Regions from separate parts of the Homo sapiens genome. Here all the other regions are linked to region 3. Evidence: promoter capture Hi-C in 16 types of primary human blood cells and fetal thymus (Javierre and others, 2016). All regions are on one chromosome and are shown on one strand. Each heading gives the region's core, a stretch centred on a gene start or on the middle of the fragment in contact. The rest is flanking DNA. Distances are from core to core; before and after follow the strand shown. Region 1 has its middle 11 kb from the start of GOLGA8A. Region 2 overlaps NUTM1 (NUT midline carcinoma family member 1). Region 3 holds the start of AVEN (apoptosis and caspase activation inhibitor).

The links. Contacts are between HindIII fragments. The CHiCAGO score rates a contact against its expected background, and 5 or more counts as called.
Region 1: a contact is called between a fragment that was not itself captured here and the fragment with the promoter of AVEN in region 3, in 1 of 17 cell types (total CD4 T cells). The highest score is 5.5, in total CD4 T cells.
Region 2: a fragment that was not itself captured here is called in contact with the fragment with the promoter of AVEN in region 3 in 1 of 17 cell types (total B cells); the score reaches 6.3 in total B cells.

What each region holds. Positions count from the first base shown.
Region 1 is chr15:34,447,119-34,450,786 of GRCh38, reverse strand. No RefSeq gene overlaps it. Among named protein-coding and RNA genes, the nearest start is that of GOLGA8A, 11 kb to the right of the region's middle. The HindIII fragment of the contact is 3,660 bases long and covers 331-3,668 here.
Region 2 is chr15:34,351,569-34,355,398 of GRCh38, reverse strand. NUTM1 (NUT midline carcinoma family member 1) reads right to left here. Exons shown (of 8, transcript NM_001284292.2): 5 at 1,527-1,663; 6 at 667-953; 7 at 262-378. Among named protein-coding and RNA genes, the nearest start is that of NUTM1, 10 kb to the right of the region's middle. RefSeq lists an enhancer at 429-1,628. The HindIII fragment of the contact is 1,285 bases long and covers 1,892-3,176 here.
Region 3 is chr15:34,037,032-34,040,545 of GRCh38, reverse strand. AVEN (apoptosis and caspase activation inhibitor) reads left to right here and starts at 1,342. Exons shown (of 6, transcript NM_020371.3): 1 at 1,342-1,766. The coding sequence starts at 1,500. The region is part of intron 1 of CHRM5 (cholinergic receptor muscarinic 5); the gene reads right to left. RefSeq lists silencers at 1,250-1,419, 1,600-1,809, 1,900-1,959, 2,310-2,369. The HindIII fragment of the contact is 8,272 bases long and covers 1-3,126 here.

The sequences.
Region 1 (3,668 bases), core at 911-3,410, 410 kb before region 3:
GTTCATAAAATCAAAATTCTTACTCATGCTATGTGTGTTTTAACTGAACTTACTCAAGTTTTCAAGGGCCAGAAAAAATGTGTACAACTGACCACTGTAGCACTGCTAACACCTCCAGTTGTGTGTTACCCATCCTCCTTAAAATCATAAAGTTCCTTGGCCTGGTCTGGATTCTAGCTTCAGTCTGCTGTCATCTGTTGCAGACTGCATTTCTACTCTTTCGTATTTATTATTCACCTCTTCTCTCCCTTTTCCGTTTCTTTTGTTTCAAGAAGAGCAAAAATAACAAGAACATATTTCTCCCACTGCTCTACACAGAACATTTAAGCTTCCCTCGGCTAAATTGTCTAACTACAAATTTAACCCAACACACTTTACAAACTCAAGGGCTGGGCTAAAACATAAGTGAGTAGTAGCCCATATGTAGTGGCCTACAAATGTCGGCCATTTGTAATGGCCTCACACAATTTAGTTGAAAGAGATGGTGTCCTCTTCAATCTCTGTCTGGCTGAGGGAGCAGGGAGCTCACAGTCTGATAATGTACAGACCTGTTGAGACACCAGTGGACTACCATATAATGGAAGAAGAGTCGAGGGAACACTGAGCAGGGTAGGATGAATTCTGCTTTGAGGTAGTCCCAAAGACTGCCAAGAGAAGGCAGTACCCGAAGATAAGTCACATGAGTCAGAGGTGAGGATGGTTTTCTATGAAAGGTAGAAGCCCTGTAAATTTGAGAAGCAAAATATTCTGGGAGACATCTGCTACCCTGCTGATCAAGAGTCTACTCAGTAAAATTTCACTAGTTTTTTTGACTTCAACAATAAATCATCAGCCTAATGTAGGTGGGCTCTACCATTCACAGCAAGTGCACACTACTCTTCAGGTAGACCCAAAGCACAGGAAAAGCAGAAATAGTGCCATTGCCATTATATACCTACATTATGTTACAATCCTCAGCTTCCATTTTTTTTTTTTTTTTTTTTTTTTTTTGAGACGGAGTCTCGCTCTGTGGCCCAGGCGGGAGTGCAGTGGCGCAATCTCGGCTCACTGCAAACTCCGCCTCCCGGGTTCACGCCATTCTCCTGCCTCAGCCTCCCGAGTAGCTGGGACTACAGGCGCCCACCATCACGCCCGGCTAATTTTTTTTGTATTTTTAGTAGAGACGGGGTTTCACCGTGTTAGCCAGGATGGTCTCGATCTCCTGACCTCGTGATTCGCCCGCCTCGGCCTCCCTCAGCTTCCATTTTTGAAATATTTTTTTCTGTCAACACCAGCAGTGAAAATTAGACTATGTGCACAGGTTAAACATGCATTGAAGAGCTACAAATCTGGTAACAGAAATAATAAAACATTTCAGATCTGTGAATAATTTCAGTTGTCTATTTGATTGATCAGGAGTCATGGCACAGAAAGGAAAAAAAGAAGGTAAAATTAAGGAATATGTCCAGATGAAAGAGAAGTACCACGTGCCTACCACTCCCTTTCTGCCCAAAGTGCCAACATCTCTTATTAAATAAACTGCATTTTACTCTATTTATAGAAAAGGATACTCTAGAACTAGGAACTCCATTTCTATGATACCTGGGAACAGAATAAAAAACATAACTACAAAAACTGCAATATAAAAGCTGCTGTAGAAAACAGAAAATATGAGTCAAAACATTTCAGCTGAAGAAATTCTTCCCCCAAACCAACTAGGAAGAAAGATAAACTGCAATAAAACTCTCCAGACTGAATTAAATATCCTCAAATAAGCATCTGAAGATGGTACAATTCAAGAAATTTAACACTGAAGTAATATTTTCATCTAATCTATGTAGTCCATATTCCATGTCTAGAATCACATACTGCATTTAGTTTTTCTATCTCTTTCACCTTCTTTATTCTATCAGCATTTCTCTGCCTTTCTTTATCATGGCATTGGGAGTTTTGAAAAATTCAGGCTAGTAATTTTACAGAATGTTTCTTCATTTGAGCTTGATTGATGTGTTCTCATGATTAGACTTGGTTATACAGCTGCAAGTGGAATAATGCAGCAGTGATGTGGTGTCCTTCTCGGGGTACCATATATCCCCCAAATACAAGACATCTACATACCTCTTATTGGTGAGGTTACTTTGCAGCAAAAGGTCAAAGTGTCATTTGCATTCTTCACTGTTTAGTTAGTACTTTTCTCCTTGTAATGAATAGCAGTCTGTGAAGAGACACTTTGAGAACACGCAAGCAGCCTGCTTCTCATCCAGCTCTTCCCAAAGATAAGTATTCTCCTGATACTTCTTGCCTAAATTATTTTTTACCACCATAGTTGCAAATGGTATTCCCCGCCCTGCCTCCCTCCACCCGGCCACTCCATGACTCTTCCTTTCACATGTATCAGGTGGCACACTAATTTAAAGAAATGTTCTCTTGGCTGGGCGCGGTGGCTCACGCCTGTAATCCCAGCACTTGGGGAGGCTGAGGCGGGCGGATCACGAGGTCAGGAGATCGAGACCATCCTGGCTAACACGGTGAAACCCCGTCTCTACTAAAAATACAAAAAAATTAGCCGGGGGAGGTGGCGGGCGCCTGTAGTCCCAGCTACTCAGGAGGCTGAGGCAGGAGAATGGCGTGAACCCCGGGGGGCGGAGCCTGCAGTGAGCCGAGATCGCGCCACTGCATCCAACCTGGGCGACAGCGAGACTCCGTCTCAAAAAAATAAAATAAAATAAAGAAATGTTCTCTTTTCTCCTCTGCTTATTTATCCATTTATGTATGCGCGTATCTCTTTGTTTGCTTATTATAATAGATGAATAATTTCCTACTTTATTTAATCATCCTATTTTATTTAATCGTTGCAATCCTCATTTATTTTGATAGACAAATTGTCCCTAGATTTGGTCAGCAGGAGCCCCTTCAAGCTATTGCCTATTTCTTTTTGACATGTTCCCATTGTTTTCTTGAGCACTCCCTTTCTTTCTGGCACAAAAAGGTGTTCCAGTTTCATCATGTACCTTCTTTGTCCCAGCCCTGGAACCAGACATTTCTCCAAGAGGCTCTTGTTCCTTTCAGTAGGGACAGGTATTAAAAACCATCTGGGCACAAAATTCGCTTATGGCTCTTAAGGTATTAGTGCCTCTTTTGTGGGTAGAATTAGGAAAAAATAATACATATATGTGTGTGTGTGTATATATATATATACATGTAAATATATATGTGTATTGTGCATACATATATATCTGTCTCGTACTGAGACACTGTTTGCTTAGCTACATTTGACTTAGGTGCCAGTTTCAGCCAGAATAGGAGAGGGAAGAGATGAGGGAGGAGGGAGAGTGAGAGAGAGAGAGAGATGAGAAAGAATTCCTCAGGATCACTTATAAAGTGATTTGTAGAAGCAGTGAGTAGGAATGGTTTCATTTCACTTGTGAACTCTGAGCATTAACTTTCCCCATTCATGTCTATGAATGTTTTCTGTTCAAATGCCAACCTTCAACTGGGCTTTGACGTGGAGAGGGAAGAGTTTTCAATTCATCTGCACCCATTTGCTCTTCAATGTATCCTGCATTTTACTGTATCCTAGAAAACCACTACCCAGGTACAGGTATCTGGTCTGTGCTCACTTCGCTTTAGAAATAAAAATTATAAGGTGGAATTGAGAAGATAATGTTTGAATAAATGGTTGAAGAATG
Region 2 (3,830 bases), core at 1,285-3,784, 310 kb before region 3:
AGGAAGGCAAGCAAGTAGTTTAAGCGATGGTAGCAAAGACAGATACTGCAGCTCTTTCCCACCTTCTTGTGCCTTATTCCCATGCTTTGAGCCCTTACATTCTCATTTCCTGTGTTTCCATAGCCCTCTACCTACTCGTTCTGCACCTGAAGCCCAATCCTGAAGCTGTTCATCTCTAGAGCCATATCACCCACGACAGTGTAGGGTTAGATAAAATCTTGCAAGCTTCTCGTTCTCATATTTCCTATACCCCAGTTTTACCTGGGCAAGAGTGAGTCCTTCTTCTTGCTCTAGCTCCTCAATTAAGGCCAAGGGATCTCTCTGTTTTTCTGGGGACAGCAGATCTGCCAGAAATTGAGGGTGAATGACAGCCTCCACCTGGATAACAGAAGGAAAAGCGATGTAAGTCTGTAAGCAGGTAACCTGTGAAACAAGGGGCTTTACAGAAGAAACTAAGAGCTCCCCAACTCTCCCCTCTTACCCCTCCGGTATTGTAAACTGACCACCACCGGCTACACACATTCTCATGATGATGCATGCACACACATTACTCAGTTATAGAATAAAACCTAAGTCCTACTGCATTGGACAAACCCCAGATCATTAGTTCCCGGGAGTACCCACCCCAAGGATCTGCTAGAAACAAGATGTGCAGGCCCAGCTCACCTTGGAGACAAAGACCTTCTGAGAACACAGCTCATTGATGTAGCTCAGGAGACCTGGATCTGGATACATCCCTTCCTCCTCCTGCTGCTGCCCTTCTTCCTCTTGTTTTCCATCTGACTCCCCAGTGGCCAAGTGAGTCCCCACCAGCCATTCCATGATGTCAACATACTCCTTCACAGCTTCTGGTGGGATCTCCTTGGGTGCCTCAGGAGCAGGAGGTCTCTGGGCTTTACGCTGACGCCGGCGGGGGGCCCGTGTCTTGGAGGCTGCCTTCTTCGGAATGTACACTAAGGGAAGAGATGGACAGGAGAATGGGAAGTAGCACAGAAACCACAGATTCTGCCTCCTTCGGAATGTACACTAAGGTAAGAGATGGACAGGAGAATGGGAAGTAGCACAGAAACCACAGCTTCTGCCTCCCAGCTCTGTAAGCTCAGCAATCTGGGTACATTGAAATGGTTCCAGGCTGGATTGGGCCAACCTGAAAAAGCGCCAGCCATGGGAGATTTAGGACCTAGAGGGTCTAAGAATCACTGTATGAGGAATTTTGGAATCCCTGAGATTCCAAGAAACCCCCTAATCCAGTCCCCATTTCTTAGGCAGATGAGGTATTATGTGCTGAATTTAGAGTCTCGGTGAGAGTAGTCAGTTTACTTCACCAAGATCAATACCTAGTTCAGGGCAAAAGGAACCTGAGAACCCAGCCTCCTATGGGGTGGTCTGTTTGGAATATCAAATGCCACTCTCCAGAGGGAAAGTGGCAGAGCCTGGGCTATGCCTTCTCTAATCTGTGACTGGCTTCTGTATGCATCCCTTTGAGCCTTTGGCCCACGGCTCCTGTCAAAATTGGGTAGCCTCACCTGGCTGCTGGCAAACCTCAGAGGCCAGGGGCCCTAGAGGATCAAGTTTCAAAGGGGTTGCAGGAGACAGGCCCTGAGACCCATTCATCAGCTGTGTGTTCTGAATCTGCATCTCCTCAGCCTCAAACTCCATGAACCTGCAGAGGGTGAGAAAGGCATAGGCAATGCTGAGAAGGAGACCAGACCCATCAGAAATCCAGACGACAGCCAAGCATGGCCAAGAAAGGAAGTGCTCTCAGGTGGGCAAAGTCTGCCTAAGTCATGTCACCCAGGAGGGTGGTCACAGGTGGCTTAATCGTATTTCCAGGGAAACTTCAGGAGCTCAGCACATAGTTCCTTCCCCTATAGTCATAACTTAGGAAGCTTAAGAAAATGAATGGCCAGGTGGGGTGGCTCATGCCTATAAACCCAACACTTTGGGAGGCTGAGGTGGGCAGATTGCTTGAGCCCAAGAGTTTGAGACCAACCTGGGTAACACGGCAAAAACCCATCTCTACAAAAGATACCAAAAAAATTAGCCAAGAGTGATGACGCGCGTCTAGTCACAGCTATTGTGGGGCTGAGGTGGGAGGATCGCTTGAGCTCAAGAGGTGAAGGCTGCAGTGAGCCATGACAGTGCCACTGCACTCCAGCCTGGGCAACAGAGTGAGATCCTGCCTCAAGAAAATTTTTAAAAAGTAAAGAATGAGGCCAGGCGCAGTGGCTCACGCCTGTAACCCCAGCACTTTGGGAGGCTGAGGCGGGCGGATCATGAGGTCAGGAGTTCGAGACCAGCCTGGCCAACATAGTGAAACCCCGTCTCTACTAAAAATGCACAAAATTAGCCTGATGTGGTGGTGGGTGCCTGTAATCCCAGCTACTCGGGAGGCTTAGGCAGGAGAATCACTTGAACCCAGGAGGCAGAGGTTGCAGTGAGCCGAGATCGTGCCATTGCACTCCAGCCCAGGCAACAGTGTGAGACTTTGTCTCAAAAAAAAAAAAAAAAAAAAAAAAAAGTTAAGAATGATCTAGAGCTTGTAAACTTCTCTTGGACACAGTGAGGGCTTTCAGTACTTGTTTTTGTTTTTGAGACAGAGTCTCACTCTGTCGCCCAGGATGAAGTGCAGTGGCCCAATCTCGGCTCACTGCAACCTCTGCCTCCCGGGTTCAAGTGATTCTCCTGCCTCAGTCTCCTGAGTAGCTGGGACTACAGGTGCGTGCCACCACGCCTGGCTTTTTTTTTTTTTTTTTGTATTTTTAGTAGAGACGGGGTTTCACCGTGTTAGCCAGAATGGTCTCAATCTCCTGACTTCATGATCCGCCCGCCTCACCCTCCCAAAATGCTGGGATTACAGGTGTGAGCCAATGTGCCCGGCCTCACTTGTTTTCCGTACCTATCTCACCCAGCTTCATGGATTGTACACAGCAGTGCTCAATATAGGCTTGTTTAACTTAATCAGGCCTATGCAACAGCCTGGTGGGATCTCACAGTGGGATCCTCCTCAAGACCTCATTTGCCCCTGCCTACAACCACAAAGAATTCAAGGCAGTTCCTACCAGGAAACAATGTGAGATCCCAGAGTCCTGAGACTGGGATGGGATTCTTGGAAAGGTAAGTCTAGGAAGCATGGGTCCAAAAGGTTTTGGGAGGGAGTAAGTGGAAGCTAAGCTTGGAAGAATCTGTTCATTTTTCTGAGTTTTTTCTTTCTTTCTTTCTTTTTTTGAGACAGAGTTTCGCTCTTGTTGCCGAGGCTGGAGTGCAATGGCACAATCTCGGCTCACCGCAACCTCTGCCTCCTGGGTTCAAGCGATTCTCCTGCCTCAGCCTCCTGAGTAGCTGGGATTACAGGCATGCGCCACCATGCCTGGCTAATTTTGTATTTTTAGTAGAGATGGGGGTTTCTCCATGTTAGTCAGGCTGGTCTCGAACTCCCGACCTCAGGTGATCTGCCTGCCTCGGCCTCCCAAAGTGCTGGGATTACAGGCGGAGCCACCACGCCTAGCCTTTTTTTTTTTTTTTTAATCAAAGATATTATAGAGAAATAGAAGAAGAGCCAGGAGACAACTTTGGGCATCCAGGACACTGGCTTTCCCCGGCTCTTCCAGAACCAGCCCCCTCCCTGGGATAAAGGCGGAAAGGGATTTTCTGTGCCACTATTTCCAATGGAGGAGTGGTCCTGAAGTTCTGTATCAATAGCCACTTGCTACCAAGTCAATGAGAAGAGAAAAGAACCTGCCTGGTAGAGCACACCTCCTCATTGCTAGGTCCCTTCAGCATGAAATTTCTATATCTATCGGGGTCCAATCTCCAATCCCATCCTAAGA
Region 3 (3,514 bases), core at 93-2,592:
CAAATGAAGTGATATGAGAAGTATGTAGAATAGTGTTTGGTGCATATAAGTGCTCTACAAGTGTTACTATTTTTAAGACTGTTTCTCTGGAGTTGACAATCCTTCAATAGTTCCCCCTGTCTGGAAGGCGCCCCTACTCCCATTTACCAACCAGGCAAACTCCTACTCAACCATTAGGCTTTAGCTCAGGGGTCTATTTCTCATGAAGCCTTGGGTAACCCGTTTAAATATAATTTAACTTTTCTTCTTTGGACCTTGATCTTGAATCTCTCACTGCACTCAGCAACACGGTACTGTAATCATCTATTCACACGACTAGATTATCTTCCTTGTGGGCAGTGAGCTACTTGAGGGCAGGGGCAAGGTTTTTTTTTTGTTTTTGTTTTTAATTTCAGGACATAGCACTGTGCCTGATGCAGAGTAGGCAATTAGAAGCAATGAAAAGTATTAACTATGTATGGATATAGGAAAGAACCAGAAAGTACTGAGGGGGAAGAAAACACTTATTCTGCTAGGCTGACATTTTAGCCCTTGCTTTCATTATTTTCAGGTGGTTTCAGTCCCAAGTTAAAAACTGCTTTCATGCATCTGTGTAACCAACTGTTCCCCTTCCTGTTTTCTCCTTGGTTGAAAGAAGGGACTGGAGTGAGACCGCCTTAGAATGCCAGTTCCACCACTACCTAGTTATTCACTTTAGTCAAGTTTTTTTTAACCTTTCCAAGGCTGTTACCTCACTGCAGAATAAGGATGACAGTCATCCCTACCTCATAGAGCTGTTATGAGAATGAAATACTCATGTGCTCAATAAATGTCAGCTGTAGTAGTCATTTCTACAGAAATTCTGCTGAGGACTTTGACGCCCTTTCTAGCCATCTCCCAGTTTCGCACTGTTCTCTCTCCCACGTGCTGCAGTCCACCTCTCACCAGACACAAACTCTTGTCTTTACATCCACACCTCCTGAACCCTGACTTCGGTATAGTTTTAAAATGATACACATTCGTTGCTGAAAATTAGATTAAACGGAGGAAAAAAAATTAACTCACTTCAAATCTCAGCAGTTAACCACTAACATTTTAGTATGTATTTGTTTAGACCTTTTCTTATGCAAATACATACGTTTAAACTTTTTTTTTCCGAGAGTTCACATCATACAAATTTTATTTTATGACTCGTCCTTGCACTTAGCACGGTCTCTCCCCCAACCTATCTCTGATGCCTTGAGAATCCCCCCGCCCCGCTGCAGACCCCCACCACTTCCAGCTCCCAGCGGTCCGGCCTTCCCGCGGTCCCGGTTCCGGCCCCACCTGCGGGACGCCGGCCGCCCCGCCCCGCCCCGCTCCGCTGCGGCCGGCCTCGATCCCTAGCCCCGCACCCCGCGCCTCGCTGCTACCGGGCGCCTTTCGCTCGCGGCTCCTCCGTGCGGCCCGCTTCCGGTGGGGCCAGGGCGTCTCCGCCGCAGCTCGGCTCCCGCGCGCTCAGCACCGCCAGCGGCGGCCAGATGCAGGCGGAGCGAGGAGCTCGGGGAGGCCGTGGGCGGCGGCCAGGCCGCGGCCGGCCTGGCGGAGATCGCCACAGCGAGCGGCCCGGAGCCGCAGCGGCGGTAGCCAGAGGCGGCGGCGGAGGCGGCGGCGGGGACGGAGGCGGACGCCGGGGCCGTGGCCGTGGCCGGGGCTTCCGCGGCGCTCGCGGAGGCCGAGGAGGAGGAGGCGCCCCGCGAGGCAGCCGCCGGGAGCCGGGAGGCTGGGGCGCAGGGGCCAGCGCGCCGGTAAGAGGCGACGGCTGGTGGGGCTGGGACCGCGTGTAACTGGGGCAAGTGGGGCCGAGGCCGCCAGTCAAGAGCCGCAAGAGAGCGTGCCAGGCGCGCGCCAGACGGGCGGCGGCGCCGGCGCCTGCGCGGGACGGGCGGATGGTGGCGCGGGGGCGCGCCTGGTGGCGGGGGCGCGCCTGGGTATGCGCTTGGCCCTCGTGGCCTCCTGGCCGGGCTGGCGCGAGACAGTGGGGGTAGGAGGGCTTCCCAGCCTGCCCCAGGGTCCGGGTTAGGAACCCAGAGGCCAAGGCCGTGTGTCAGGGCTGCAAGTCTCGGCGGCCCGTGGGCCGGCTGGGCTGTCTGTACGAGTACCACTATGGGACGGAGGCGCGGCCACGACGTGGTCCCTCGGCAGCCTTTACGGGCACGCTCCTGTTATTAGGAGGGAAAGGATTTTTTGGTCTGTTTTGTTAACTGTCTGTGCAATGCCTAGTACACAGTAGGCGCATAATAAAAAGTTTGTTGAGTGAAAGAATGACCCCTACGACTGGACTCTAGTATTTGGGGGCGGGACCAGATGCATAGTTCTTTGTAATAGCGTAGTTCTCTTTTATTATGCCTGTATGTGTAGAAATCAGCGAGCACTGGGCTTTGTCGTTTTGAATTTTCAATTTATAAATGAGCAGTCAAGTTCTGAGTTTTAATAGCAATATCATCAGTCTTATTGACACATTCATAGAAGGAAGTTTTTGGAGATTGGAGCAGGGGATGATATATATGGGGGCAAAGCTAACCATATCTCAGCTAAAGGAGTTAGAGGACTGTCTTTTTATGAGTTGTTCTGTTACCTTAACATCTGTAGGACAAGACCATCTTTATATTCTGCATTCTTATGCACACTGATTTAAAAAATTCTTTTTTGCATGAGGCAAAATTTGCTCTTACTGAAGTATTTACAATATCTTGAGGGCATAGCAGATAAGATATCCCTAAAGAGAGTAGTTGTATACAGCAATACAGAGCTGGAAAAAAAAGTATAAAACTTAAATTTAAATGTAACAAACTTAAATCTTGTTAGGATTAAGATAGGTAATAGGCAAAACTTGAATGAGATATAAAAACATTTTTAGGGTCAGTTTACCTCGTGTAAACTGACAGAAACTAAGGTAAATGACAGAAACTAAGACCAACCTAGTGCCCACTATATATCACATTTTGTTCTTATAACTCTATTATATATATATAATATATATGTAATGTAGAATTATGTAATATAATAGTATGTAATTATATATTAACTACAATGTTATATATTATTTATATATCCATATATAGAGAGTAATCTTTATTTTTACAGGTTAACTGACTTGCCTAAGCTTTCACAGCTAGTGGCAGAGCTGGGATTTATATCAAGCTGCCCTTGAGTCAACAGTATTTTATCTCTTACTTTTTCGTGAACCAGTTACCACTTTATTGAGAACAAAGTAGATATTCCTTAGCTGCAGGGATCGTGCTTTAAGAGTAATTGTAGTAATGGTACATTTGGTGTTAACTATGGTGTCTGGCGCACAGGACTTTACTAATAAGTGTCTTTAAGTTGAATTGAGTGAGTGAAGGTGCTTCTGTTTTGTTAATCTCTGTTGAATTAAATTGGGTGAAATGATGGTATATATTTTTTTTTTTTTTTTGAGACGGAGTTTTACTCTTGTTGCCCAGGCTGGAGTGCAATGGCATGATCTTGGCTTGCTGCAACCTCCGCCTCCCGG